Linked DNA regions of Homo sapiens: region 1 is linked to region 2. The links are contacts of gene promoters, found by promoter capture Hi-C in human tissues and cell types (Jung and others, 2019). All regions are on one chromosome and are shown on one strand. Each heading gives the region's core, a stretch centred on a gene start or on the middle of the fragment in contact. The rest is flanking DNA. Distances are from core to core; before and after follow the strand shown. Region 1 has its middle 7.3 kb from the start of IGSF10. Region 2 holds the start of GPR87 (G protein-coupled receptor 87).

Region 1 (6,189 bases), core at 892-3,391, 150 kb after region 2:
CCTAGGAAAGCCAGGGCTGAAGTAGATAAAAGTTAGAAACCTGATATAGATGCAAACCTGAGAGAAGACTAAGGCAGAAGGAGCACAAGAATGACCATTGTTGTTGTCAAGAGTTTAGAAATAGGTGCCTGAAGAGCAGCTCTGCTGACTTTAGTTTTGTACTCTGGTCGCTGTAAATGCTCTGTGTTGCTTTTATGATAAGTATTGTATCAAAAGCCATTGGTTGAGGTTTGCAGAACTCACCATGATTTCTTAAGCCTGGGTAGGAGATGCACCTAAGAGATTTGAGAACTCTTCTAGTTTCTTCTTCTTTTTAATGAAAAGACATTATTATTACTTTACTATATAACATATTAGTGAATACGGCAGCTTGTATTTTCTCAAATGGGAAATGGCAAATGAGGCACATTTTTCTGATTTCTCCAGGAAGCTCAGTATCATCTGTCTTTTGGAGGATTTAATTTCTTATGACATCTGTCATACTATCCAGAGGATACCAATGGTGCTGTTACAGCAAACTAAATATGGCCTGAGAGGGACGTTGTACTTCTATATTTGAGTCCTTGTGGATGAACTGTAATCTAATTTAATCGGTAGACAAGATTGAAAACCTAACTTAGGAATATGCACCTGTAACAATTGCTGAGTCTTGGCCAATCCTAGCAGTCATACTTCAACCACTCATGCACTGCTGAGTGTCAAACTGTGTTCAAATAAGGCAAATGCCAACCTGTAACCAATCCAGCTGTTTCTGTACCTCACTTCTGATTTCTGTATATCATTTTCCTTTTTTTGTCTATAAATTTTTTCTGACCACGAGGCATCCCTGTAGTCTCTCTGAATCTGCGGTATTTCTGGAGGATGTCCAATTCATGAATCGTTTTTTTCCTTGTTCAATTAAACTTTGTCAAATTTAATTTGTCTGAAGTTTTAACAGATCTGGCATCAGAAGTGGGATTCAAAGTAAAACTCTGGCGACCCCCAGAAATACCAGGTGACCAGGCGAGGTACCCGCTGAGCCCATTGTGCTCACTGTTCTCTTGATTGTAAATGGAGGTCATGGGTGAGTTTTCTCTCAGATTCTGAACTCCAGTAACTTGTGTTTTGGGGTCTCTGAGTTTACTTGAGCAATACTTAGACTGCACCGAGTCTAAGATCAAATTGGATTTGATAATTAACTGGATTGAATTCAATTAGAGGCCTTGGACCTTGGGTAGGTACTTTATTTTTAATAATGGAATTATCTCAGTCCAAGGAGTCTGGGACTCCACCTTCTGGAACTCCAGCTAATTTTATGTATAAAAATTATGGGCCCAGCACGTGTTTTTGTTTTGTTTTGTTTTGTTTTGTTTGTTCGAGATAGAGTCTCACTCTGTCTCCCAGGCTGGAGTGCAATGGCACAATCTCAGCTCATTGCAGCCTCCACCTCCTGGGTTCAAATGATTCTCCTGCCTTCGCCTCCCGAGTAGCTGGGACTACAGGCACCTGCCACCATGCCCAGCTAATTTTTGTATTTTTAGTAGAGACAGGGTTTCACCATGTTGGTCAGGCTAGTCTTGAACTCCTGACCTCAGGTGATCCACCCGCCTCGGCCTCCTAAAGGGCTAGGATTACAGTAGTGAGCCATTATGCCTGGCTCAACGTGTGCATTTTTAGAAAAATGGGTTAACCCCACTAAAGAGAACTTAAGATGGTCGAAATGAGGAAGTTATAATTTGGAAAAAATTGTGTATTTGTGAGGCATATTGGAAAAAGACTATGTCCCACAGAAACAGTGGGACATAGTCTTTCATTGGTATGCAGAGGTCTCCAAAAGACTAAATGAATCAAAAATTAACTCCTTGAAAGATTCTTTGCAAAAAGCAAATGGAAAGCTTAGGCACCAGACCAAGGACATGACAAAAGAGGGCTGTGCTCTGACTGAACTAACTTCGACTGTTTCTTCTCTTTATCCATTTCTGCCTATATACTGAGTCCACTAACCTTTTTGCTAAATTACCCTTTCACCCTGAAGATGATGAAAAAGAGGAAGTTAGATGCCTTACAAAGTAAGACCTGATCAGCCAGGCCTGTCTGCTATAACTACTTTCACTCCATGGTCTAAAACTGAGCTTAAAGTTTTGTGAAGGACTTCCCTTATTCAAGGGAAAATCTCAAAAATTTACTGAGGAATTTAGAATCCTAATAGGAGCTTACAAGCCAGGGCTTCCTGACCTTTACCAATTTATTCACATGATATTAGGGCCTGATGAAGCTCAAGAATGGATGGCAGTAGCAGAATGGGACAAACCTGAGGAGGGTATTAAAGACCCCTCCAAAAGCTCCTCATGAGAAGGACCAAAAGTAGCTAGAAAAATGGCTGAGCCGGGCGCGGTGGCTCACGCCTGTAATCCCAGCACTTTGGGAGGCCGAGGTGGGTGGATCACGAGGTCAGGAGATCGAGACCGTCCTGGCTAACGCAGTGAAACCCCGTCTCTACTAAAAATACAAAAAATTAGCCGGGCGAGGTGGCGGGCACCTGTAGTCCCAGCTACTCGGGAGGCTGAGGCAGGAGAATGGCGTGAACCCCGGGGTCAGAGCCTGCAGTGAGCCGAGATCGTGCCACTGCATTCCAGCCTGGGCGACAGCGAGACTCCATCTCAAAAAAAAAAAGAAAAAAGAAAAAAGAAAAAAAGAAAGAAAAATGGCTGAAAACATTTTACATTCAATTTCTAATATTTTTCTGCAAAAAGTTGATTAGTCTGTCATACAATCTTGTAAACAAAAACAAAAGGATGAACCAGTTTGAGATTACAGAACTCGCTTAGAGACATTGTTTGTGAAACATTCTGGGCTTAAAGTACGGCAAGGAGTATTTCCTGCAGGGACTGAAATAGCATTAACTGCTCTATTATAAATGGACTCCGTCCTGAACTTAGAAGTTTAATTAAAAAACATAAGCTTGGATGGGAAGTTACAGATATGACTGAATTGGTGGCTTTAGCTGAACATTTTGAGAGGACTCTAGAGCAAGAAAAAGCTCAAAAAGCTAACAAGCTGACCCTTCAGTTACAATGGCTACAGGGGCTGCGACCAAAGGGACCTTTCTCATTCTCATTTTAAATCACAACCGAGAGATCCTAGAACAAGAAATTCTTTACCCCAAGATATCTGCCTTTATTGCAAACAACCAGGGCATTGGAAAAGGGATTGACCGCTTTTATGTAAGAGGTCTGCCAATAAGCCTCCCTTTAGGCTGAACTGTTTCTCCACTAGAGGGAGCCCAAGAGACCTTAGCCCTCCTGATAATGGCATTGACGGGGCTCCCAGGGATTCTCTACTAAATTGCTCCCGTAATACCTTTAAATGAACATGGAGAAACAGGTTAAAATAAATGGGGAGTCGTGTACAGTCCCGATGAATACTGGAGCTATTCTATCTACCATAAACCCCACTTTAATAAGCCAGTAAATCCCTAGAAGTAAAAAGGGTCATTTTTGTGAGGGTTGTTTGTATTTTTAAAATTTATTTTACGTTCCAGGATACATGTACAGGACGTGCAGGTTACATAGGTAAATGTGTGTCATGGTGGTTTGCTGCACCTATCAACCCATCACCTAGGTATTAAGTCCTGCACCCATTAGCTATTTATCCTGATGCTCTCCCTCCCCCTGCCCTGCTGCCTAGGCCCCAGTGTATGTTGTTCCCCTCCCTGTGTCCATGTGTTCTCATTGTTCAGCTCCCACTTATAAATGAGAACATATGGTGTTTGGTTTTCTCTTCCTGCATTAGTTTGCTGAGGATAATGGCTTCCAGCTCCACCCATGTCCCTGCAAAGGATATGATTTCATTTCTTTTTTATAGCTGCATAGTATTTCATGGTGTATACTTACCACAGTTTCTTTATTCATTCTATCATTGTTGGGCATTTGGGTTGATTCCATGTCTTTGCTATCGTGAATAGTGCTGCAATGAACATATGCATGCATGTATCTTTATAATAGAATGATTTACATTCCTTTGGGTATATACCCAGTAATGGGTTTACTGGGTCAAATGGTATTTCTGTTTCTAGGTTTTTGAGGAATTGCCACAGTCTTCCACAATGGCTGAAATAATTTACATTCTGTGGTGGGGGTTTCAAATCAAGTTCAAGACATTCCTGTATCTGAACCCATCCAATTAACATTGGGGCCCTTTTCAGAAAAATATACTTTTGTACTATGTGATGCTGCTCCAGTAAACTTGTTAGGGTGAGATTTACTTTCAAGTTAAAAGGGCATGTAAACCTTCTTCAGAGTTTCCTGATTCTCCTGAAGCAGAATTGTTATGCTGTCTACAGAAATAAATTGATAAGATAGAAACTCAGGCCTGTAATACCCCTGATCTCTCAAAAATACTTGAATGTTTATGGGCCTCTTCCCCAACTGATATAGGAAGAATTAAAAGTGTGCAACCTATGAAAGTCCAAATAGATCATCCTAAACCTTTGCCTAAATTACCCCAATATCCACTAAAATCTGAAGCAATTCAAGAGCTCTAACCAATTGTAGAAGATTTAATTAAACAAGGACTCATACTCCCATGCAGGAGCCCTTGTAACACTCCAATCCTAGCAGTTAAAAAGCCAAAAGGATGAGGTTGAAGATTTGTTCAAGATTTACAGGCAATAATAAAATTGTAATACCAAGATTTCCCGTAGTCCCAAATTCTAATATTTTATTATCTAATGTACCCACTGATTCCAAGTGTTCACAATAATAGATCTCTGCTCAGCCTTCTTTAGCATTCCAGTTTATAAAGAGAGTCAATACTAGTTTGCCTTTACTTGGTAAAATCAGCAGTACACTTGGCCTGTAATGCCACAAGGATTTACCAAAGCCCTTTCTATTTTTCCCAGGCATTGCATCAAGACTTAATGACACTACAGTTGCCTCAAAATTCTACTCTCATTCAGTACATAGATGAATATATGCTGTCCCACTAAGGAGTGCTCTGTAATGGACTCAGTTTACCTTTTACAGCAACTTTCATACAAAGGTCACAAGGCTTCAGTGGAAAAACTTAAGTTTTCAAGGCAAAAAGTCCACCATTTGGGATGTGACTTGGCTGCTGAAGGAATTTCCCTCTCAACTAAGAGGATAACAGCTATTCAAAGTTTTCCTTGACCTGCAACCAAAAGACAATTAAGAAGTTTTCTTGGACTTGCAGGATGTTGCAGATTCTGAGTTCCAATTTTTTCCTTAATAGCTTCACCATTGTATGAGCTCACTAATAATGCTATACCAGAGCCTTTACCTTGGGAAGACAGTCATGAGCAGGCTGTTGGCCAAATAAAGTTGACCTTACAACAGCCCTCATCTTTAGGACTTCCAAATTACACTAAACCTTTCACCTTGTTTGTTCATGAGTGTAACAATCAGGCATTAGGAGTCCTTGCTCAAGAACATGGTGGTGAACATAGGCCCATTGCATACTATAGCCTGCAATTATACCCAGTCACTAAGGCATATCCTAATTGACTAAAAGCAGCAGCAGCAGTGGCCAAACTGGTAGAAACTTCATCAGATCTTGTTTTAGGAAATGAACTTAATTTGCAAATCCCACACGCTGTGTAAAGTCTATTAAATTCCAACCAAACCCGCATTTTTCAGTAAGCAGACTAACATCTTATGAATTACTTCTCCTATCTCCTTCTAATCTTCATCTAAAACACTGTAATCTACTTAACCCTGATACTGTTATCTCTGCCCAATGATGGTGAAGACCACAATTGTGTAAGTGTAATGATATGATTTAGCTCTGTGTCCCCACCGAAATCGCACCTTGAATTGTAATAATCCCTGTGGGGATTATTGAATCATGGGGGTGGGTCTTTTCCATGCTGTTCTCATGATAGTGAATAAGCCTCATGAGATCTGATGGTTTTATAAAGGGGAATTCTCCTGCACATGCTCTCGTCTGCCACCATGTAAGACGTTACTTTGCTACTCATTCACCTTCTGCTTCCCCAGCCATGTGGAACTGTGAGTTAATTAAAAACCTCTTTCCTTCATAAATGGCCCAGTCTCAGGTATGTCTTTATTAGCAGTGAGAACAGAATAATACTTGTAGTGTCAGAAATAGTGGCCCTTCATGTTGATTTCTAAGACACTCCACTGGATAATCCTGAATTAATACTTTTTTATTGATGGATCCTATGTCAGAAAC
Region 2 (7,110 bases), core at 1,404-3,903:
CATGGCTTACACTAAATGGAACTTAATCAGTGCTCTCGCTTAAATGTATTTTAGTGTAATTTTTTAAATGTTTGGCCAATAATAATATTAATGAAACAAAATATGTTAATTAGGTACAAGATAGAGAACAAATATTCTATTCTGCCTGTGTTTGCCATATAAGGAGGGAGAGGATTTCGTAATATTTGTAAGGTCAGAAAGAACCTGTCTTTCACCATTGGCCTGAAGCAGAAGGTCTGAGAGGTGGGTGCATCTCATCTAGTTTTTAACAGCAGGGTCACCTTGCATTTGCTTCTGCTCTTGCCTCCCTGCTTTAGATAGTTACAAGTATAAGAACTGCAGCTGGCACTTGTATTAATACTTGTATTAATGCAAAACTTTCAGCCAGGTAGGAAGAGCAAATAGTACATTCATCTTCATCTTGTAGAGGAAGAATCTGAGACCTAGCGAAGTCGAGATTTGATTAACATCACGTAGCTGGCTAGGGGCAGAATTGGGAAGGTCCTCATTTGTGGCTCTACCCCATTTCCTCTCAAGCATTCCTGTGTGCTTGGTCCAAGCCTTGGGTTCTTTCATTACCAACCCCAGCGTCTCAGCATATCACCTGGATCGTGGGAATCTAGAGATGCAAGGGGCCTCTAATGACCCTCTGATCTAATCCCTTCATTTTACCTGTGAGGAAGGGAAGTGAGCTCCTGGGGAATTCAGAGACTTGCCTAAGTCACACTGATAATATTTGGTACAATCAGCCCTTAAACCCAGGTCATTTTGCTGTGAGTCCTGGGCTTTCTACTTTAAACCCAAACTACTGCCTCTTGCCTGCATAGAGAACATCTACCCTGGAGACTGGGGGATGCTTCTAGGGAGGTGACTTTACGTAGATTTCACCTCACTTCTGTCCTGTCTTCACAACCTTACCCTTTATTGGGCTTTGAGGGATTTTCATGGATTTTCCAGGCTTTTCTTATTTCAGGAGCATACAAGGAACTAATGGCCATTGTGGTCTCCTCTATCTTAACTTTCCTTGGTATTTTCTCAGAGTAAAGAGCTAAGCGTGAAATATTTTGTTGTTGTGGTTCTTAAAGAGAGTTAAATGCCAAGATATTAAGGAAGAAAAGCAGGCAGACTCTGAAGAGCACAAACAGCACAACTCTAAATAAGAACATTCCTTTTAACTTAGTCTTCCTTTTCCCACCCACATCTCTGAATGCAGTAAATCCTCTTAGCATGTTATCTCTGGTTAGGGCATTTTCTCAGTGTCTTCATGAAATAAAGATTTTCTGGCGGGATACTTTCTTTTTATAGGCTGTATCCTTAAATATGAAATTCAGCCATCCATCTGCTCTTCTAGGCCCTTGTCCTTAACCCATGTATACCTGCAACACATTTCAAGTAGAGGTCAGAAACAAGAGTCTGAGGATGAGATGTTGCTGAAGGATTAAGAGAATATGCCTCTTTGATCCCTAACTTCATGGAGACAGTTAATCTCAATTGGCAGAAATAATAAATATCAACAGGGTGTCTGGCTTTTTTCCCCCCAGTATAAAGTAATATAGAACCAGATTTGTTGCTGTTCATATTGCTAGTAAATTGGAGAACAATTATGAAAGAAATCTCTTGTTAAAAATGTTAATATACCTAAAATAAAAGCAGATTCAACTTGAGAATGTGATGTAAAATTCCATAGCAGATAAATCTTAAAATAAGAAATCAAAAAGTCACTCTACTTTAGGCTCATCTATCTTTTAAAAGTCCTTATTAAAATTTAAAAGAACTGAGATCTCCATGCTTGCTTCTTGTTTTCCTCATTGCAGTGAAAACTTCCCAAACAGTTTGAATGTGGAACAACAGTAAGCTGTTCCTAACCTGTTTGTCAGTCACTGGGCAGTTTTCTCAGTGCCTTTCCTGACATGTTTTAACATGACTTCTCCAGGGATCAGAATGAGGATTGCCCTGTTCTTTGTGGTACAATGAAAAGACTGAGATTATTTTATCAAAATGAGACAGTTGGGAAAGAGAAAAATCTTTGTCTCTCTCTTTAAAAAAAAACAATACGGATAAACGATTATGAAACAAATTTTAAGTTTTGGGTCCTGGGAAACAATTATAAGAGACTTTGACTTTTACTCATCTAATAAAGTAAATGTGGTTTAAAAAAAAATGTACTAAATAGGAGTGATTGCCAAAACATTGTTTCTACTTTTGAAGGCACAATATGTAGTTTATATTTCTGCCTGCCTGAGCTGGAAACAGTTGAAGCTTCATGGCTCACAGTGGTGCCTCATATCTTACTGTCAGCATTCTAATTTCTAGTTTTTCTTCAAACCTCAGAGTTAAGCAGAAGTATAATTACAGTTTTTAATCATTGCTGTGTCTTATCAACCACGGCTTTTAAGAAAATGAAAAATTTTTCGTTTACCTTTCATTGTGGTGGCTGGCTGTCCATTCACCTCATACGGTGTCTTCAAGTTGAAACAGGTTTCTTGTCTCTAATTAAGAATAAGCTTTGAAACTAAGGTCGGCAGGGAAGTGGATTTTCTGGTAAAGCATGAAAACGAAACATCTCCCCTACCAGACAAGGTAGGTATCTCCCTTACCCCTTTAGAGATTGTCCTTTGGGGCACCCTTTCAAATTCTCCTGCCAGGCGACTACTGGAACAACTTGCTCTCTTGCTAATGTAAATGACTCATAACTAAGAGTAGGTGAGATTTGTCGACTGGGGAAGAGTATTTCCTGAACCTGCAGGAATCAGATGGTGATTCACCTGAAGGAAACACAGAGGGCTGGAGCTTAGACTGCCAGAAGTCTGCTTAAGGAGTGGGGGATGAAGTCTCGGGTTGGGGCCTACTAACTCATCAGATCCAATTTTTAGGTCATTTTTTTTTTCCAGCCTCCTATTGCTATCTAGAAAACATGTATTTGCAGCCTTCCTGCCAATTAAATTTTGGATTAAAAGAAATAAGAATATGCTTTATGACAGATGAATTCTTTGAAAATATTATTCTACATATTATTTAAAGAGTATTGTTGTAATTGATAACTTTGGAAACTTGTAGTCTTATGAAACTAATGAAATCTGTAGACATATTTTTACACATACACAATAGACATATTTTTACACATACACAATGATAAGTATTCAAAATATGTTAAATTATTCAGGGGCTGGGTTCACTGACTCCTTTGAATGCTGACCTTTAACATAAAACAATTTATTTTATTGCTTTAAAAAAGCATCCAACAATGACAAATTTATATAATCATATCACTTTTTTTTTTTTTTTTTTTTTTTTTTTTTTGTGAGACGGAGTCTCACACTGTTGCCCGGGCTGGTATGCAGTGGCATGATCTCAGCTTGCTGCAACCTCCACCTCCCGGATTCAAGTGATTCTCCTGCCTCAGCCTCCTGAGTAGGTAGGATTACAGGTGCCCACGACTACACCCGGCTAATTTTTTGTATTTTTAGTAGAGACGGGGTTTCTCTATGTTGGCCAGGCTGGTCCTGAACTCCTGACCTCATGATCCGCCCGCCTCAGCCTCCCAAAGTGCTGGGATTACATGTGTGAGCCACTGCGCCCGGCCACTTTTTCTGATTTGTAAATAATTTTCTTGCTTTCAGATGAGAATCTCAAAGATTCTGATATTTTCTTGAATGCAACATTTAAATACATTTAAAAAAATAAAATTTCATCAAATGGAATCAAAACCTGTTATTGTGGATGAAGATAAATGAAAATAATCAAAGGTGAAAACTTTTTTGGAGTGAATAAATCTATAATAGGTATTACTTAGTGTTTACTTGTGTCTTAAGGAAATAATGTGTACGTACTAGTTGATTTTCCTTATGTTTTTACAGAAAAACAAATGGGTGTTTAACTTAAAAATCAAGAGTTGGGTATCAAAATTATATTTTTTGTATTTTCCTATCTGCTTCCTAACCATACAAAAACAGACACCTACAATTTTAATTTTTTTTTTTTTTACATTCTGCTTTGGGTGGATTAAGTATGTTACGGAAAAGTAGCTAGTCCTGGGGAAGGTGTTTGAATAACAATTAGCCAACTTAATAATGGCCTAATCTTTTAAGAATTTGCAGATTTACAAACAATCCTTCATTTAGTTTTGACTCTCTCTGTGCTATTTTATACTTCCCCATTGATTTAGCATTTGAAGCCAGTTTCTTTTCTTTTCTTCTTTTTTTTTTTTTGAAACCAGTTTGTTGTATTTTGAGCAGAAGGGTTATGCTATGCAGACTTTAGTTTGGGAGATTTGTCCTTGTGTTGACCTTTTTGCCATTTTTTCATGATGATTCATAAATAATAAATGAGGTACTGCTCATAATTTGACATTTTACTGCCAGAACAACTAACTGTTAAGTACTAAAGGCATCAGTCAAAGGGAGAAGCATCTCTTATGGCCCCCATAAAAGTATGTTGTGCAAAGAACTTTGCTGCAAGTACTGAGGATTATCACCCCAAATTTCCAGTGATGTGTATAAAATCTTAGTAGGGAGCTTATTCTGACAGATATTTGACAGGCTTCTGTTATAAGAATAAAGACCTTTTAAAAAAAAGAGAGGGCCCTACTGTGAAAGGGTTATCATAGGCCCTTCTAAGTGCGAAGAAGGGCTTGTGAGGGGCCTATGAAATTTTCCTGTATAATGAAGCATCTTTAACTTTATGTGTGATGGTGTTAAGTAGGAAATAAGGTGATGTCCCTTCACTACAGTAGGTGGCCCCCTTTTTCTCCTGAAGTGGGCTTGGGATAGGATGCACTTTTTCCTTTCCCAATACCTCTGTAAGCAACGTGCCCGGGACGGTAGCCTAACAGCTGGCTTGGAGTGTTTCAGTGTTTCGTTGGCTGGCAGCGCAAATTTAGTATAGTAACAAAAAAGTTAACGCAAGGCAGCCTTTATGCGTTAGTCTTAAAGTATATTATGCCAGTCTCAAGTTGGGACTTGTGAAAGCTGGTCTTACCTAACATTCCAAAAGGGAAGTAATACATGTTTAGTCATGAAAAAAGTGTAACACTTTGATGCAAAGAGCAGCTAACAGCCAGCCCATAGCTTTATTATTGTTCACATAATCGAAAGGTAAACCAGCATAATTTTTTTCCTGCTGGTTTTTATAGCAAGTCTCACATTTCATAAAAGCCCCGGGAATCTTCATAGCGATAATTTCCTTTCCACTTCATTGGAAAATCCTGTTAAATGCAGGGCACTCTTTTATTAATTTTGTTTAGCCATTACAAACCCCAAATTTATTTTAAATACAGAACATCCAGGTGTGTGTGTGTGTGTGCGTGTGTGTGTGTGTGTGTGTGTGTGTGTGTGTGTGTGTCGGCCACCAGAAAACTTTAAAAAATTTTGTTTTGTTTTTATACTAGGGTGATTTTTTTCCTTCTAACATTATTTTTAAAGGTATTAAGACTACAAACAAATTGAAAGAATTGTTCAACTAGATTTCATCTAGATTTATAAATTGTTACTGTTTTTCACATATACTCTTCCCCACTCCAACATATTTACTGACGACAGTAAAATGTCAGATTATGAGCAGTACCTCATTTATTATTTATGAATCATCATGAAAAATGGCAAAATCTGCATAGCATAACTCTTTACTCAAAATACAACAAACTGGCAACAAACTAAACCAAACATATTTGGTTTAGTCACAGAAATTCAAATGAGGATTCCCGTAATCTTACTGATTTTTCAAAATATATTCTTAAAGAGACAGGGGCGCTCAAGGAGAAAAAGTGTCACATCTTCGAAGGAATTAAAATAGGTAAGATTACTCATAAGCCTTTCTCAGTCCTGAAATGAACTCTTTATTCTGTTTTCTCATGTTTTTGATATGAGACATTGAGCAAATGTATTACCAAGGCTTACCTTGGTTTCTAGTGGTTTCTCCATGGCATATGACTTTTTCCTCCCTTCTTTCTTTGGCTTTTCTGCATTGGTGTGGACCTGGGGACAGTGTTTCCTCCCAGTGTTGGTAGGCATAGTATTTGTGTTATAATCTCATTTTTCTGTATCACTAATCTCAGATGTATCTGTTTCTTCTTAAGGAAAATGCACATATAAAGGGCGTCATAGTCCTTTATAGTACACTAACTTGTTATTACAAAACAAAGACAAGCAGGGATCTAATTGCAACATAGCTCAAGGTGATCTCTCTTGAATGCCCGTGTTGGTCTTTTCCATGTGGCTGGAACATGCAACAAGGATTATAGTAAAACCTTTGCCCAAGTCTTACTGTTCCATCTCTGTACACAAGTCTTTCTAATTGTGGCTCACATCCAGTAGCTGAGAACTTGTGCTGAGTATAATTATTATAAGCCCTTTAATAGTCAGTCCTTTGACAAGATTGGTATCATTGGGTCCCTATGCTTGAATTACTGTGTTTAATCTGTCATTTGAAATTATTTGTATCTATCAGGTCTGCTTTACACGAAACACCTTTTTCTGGTATGAGAACTTCATTTGATTAAAGGGAAGGGGGATGGTTTGGAGATTGAGTCTGGAGATAAGGCTGCATCTCTGACTGTTGTCCTTTTACTGATACTCCTTCCTATGCTGGGCAACTTAATCTATCTCCTTGCTTTGTAAATCTTGCTTGTGCGAGAGGCAGTGTCCGGCTGTGACAAGACTAGTGATTGGGGTCAGGTAAACTCCAATTTGGAACATCTCCACTTAGCAGCTTTTTTTACTTTGGGCAAAGCATATCTTCTTCTGAAAATGAGCATGGCAATGCCTGCCATGTAGGGTTGTAAAGCTTAAATGAGGTAATCTATTCAGGATAAATATATACAGTGTAGTTCCACAGTGTTTGGAACTTGGTTGGCATTTAAGGGTACAGGAGCACTTTGTCTTTTGTCAGAAGGTGAAGGGAGAGCAAGCGAATGAATGGGGTGTCTGATGCATGGTGGAGTTGGAATGATATGCCTCAGCTTAGAAGTTAAGGTACATCCATAATTTTGGTTGCTTTTAGAAAGCTTCTGGTTTCCTATTAGTGACAAACTGATGATTGCTTGAAATGCTTTTTATAATCTTTTTTGACAGTTTTTTTCTCCTGTAAAGAAGGAAGTTTGGACTTCTTTATTCC

What was found. The method cuts DNA at HindIII sites, captures the fragments that hold promoters and counts their contacts. A contact is called where the count stands out against the background at its distance.
Region 1: a fragment that was not itself captured here is called in contact with the fragment with the promoter of GPR87 in region 2 in 2 of the 25 tissues and cell types used here (H1 embryonic stem cells and adrenal gland).

What each region holds. Positions count from the first base shown.
Region 1 is chr3:151,465,241-151,471,429 of GRCh38, forward strand. It overlaps a transcript of IGSF10 not described here. Among named protein-coding and RNA genes, the nearest start is that of IGSF10, 7.3 kb to the left of the region's middle. The HindIII fragment of the contact is 5,439 bases long and covers 1-4,861 here.
Region 2 is chr3:151,314,167-151,321,276 of GRCh38, forward strand. It overlaps GPR87 (G protein-coupled receptor 87), which reads right to left and starts at 2,654. Exons shown (of 3, transcript NM_023915.4): 1 at 2,420-2,654. The region is part of intron 16 of MED12L (mediator complex subunit 12L); the gene reads left to right. RefSeq lists an enhancer at 2,040-3,239. The HindIII fragment of the contact is 9,815 bases long and covers 1-7,110 here.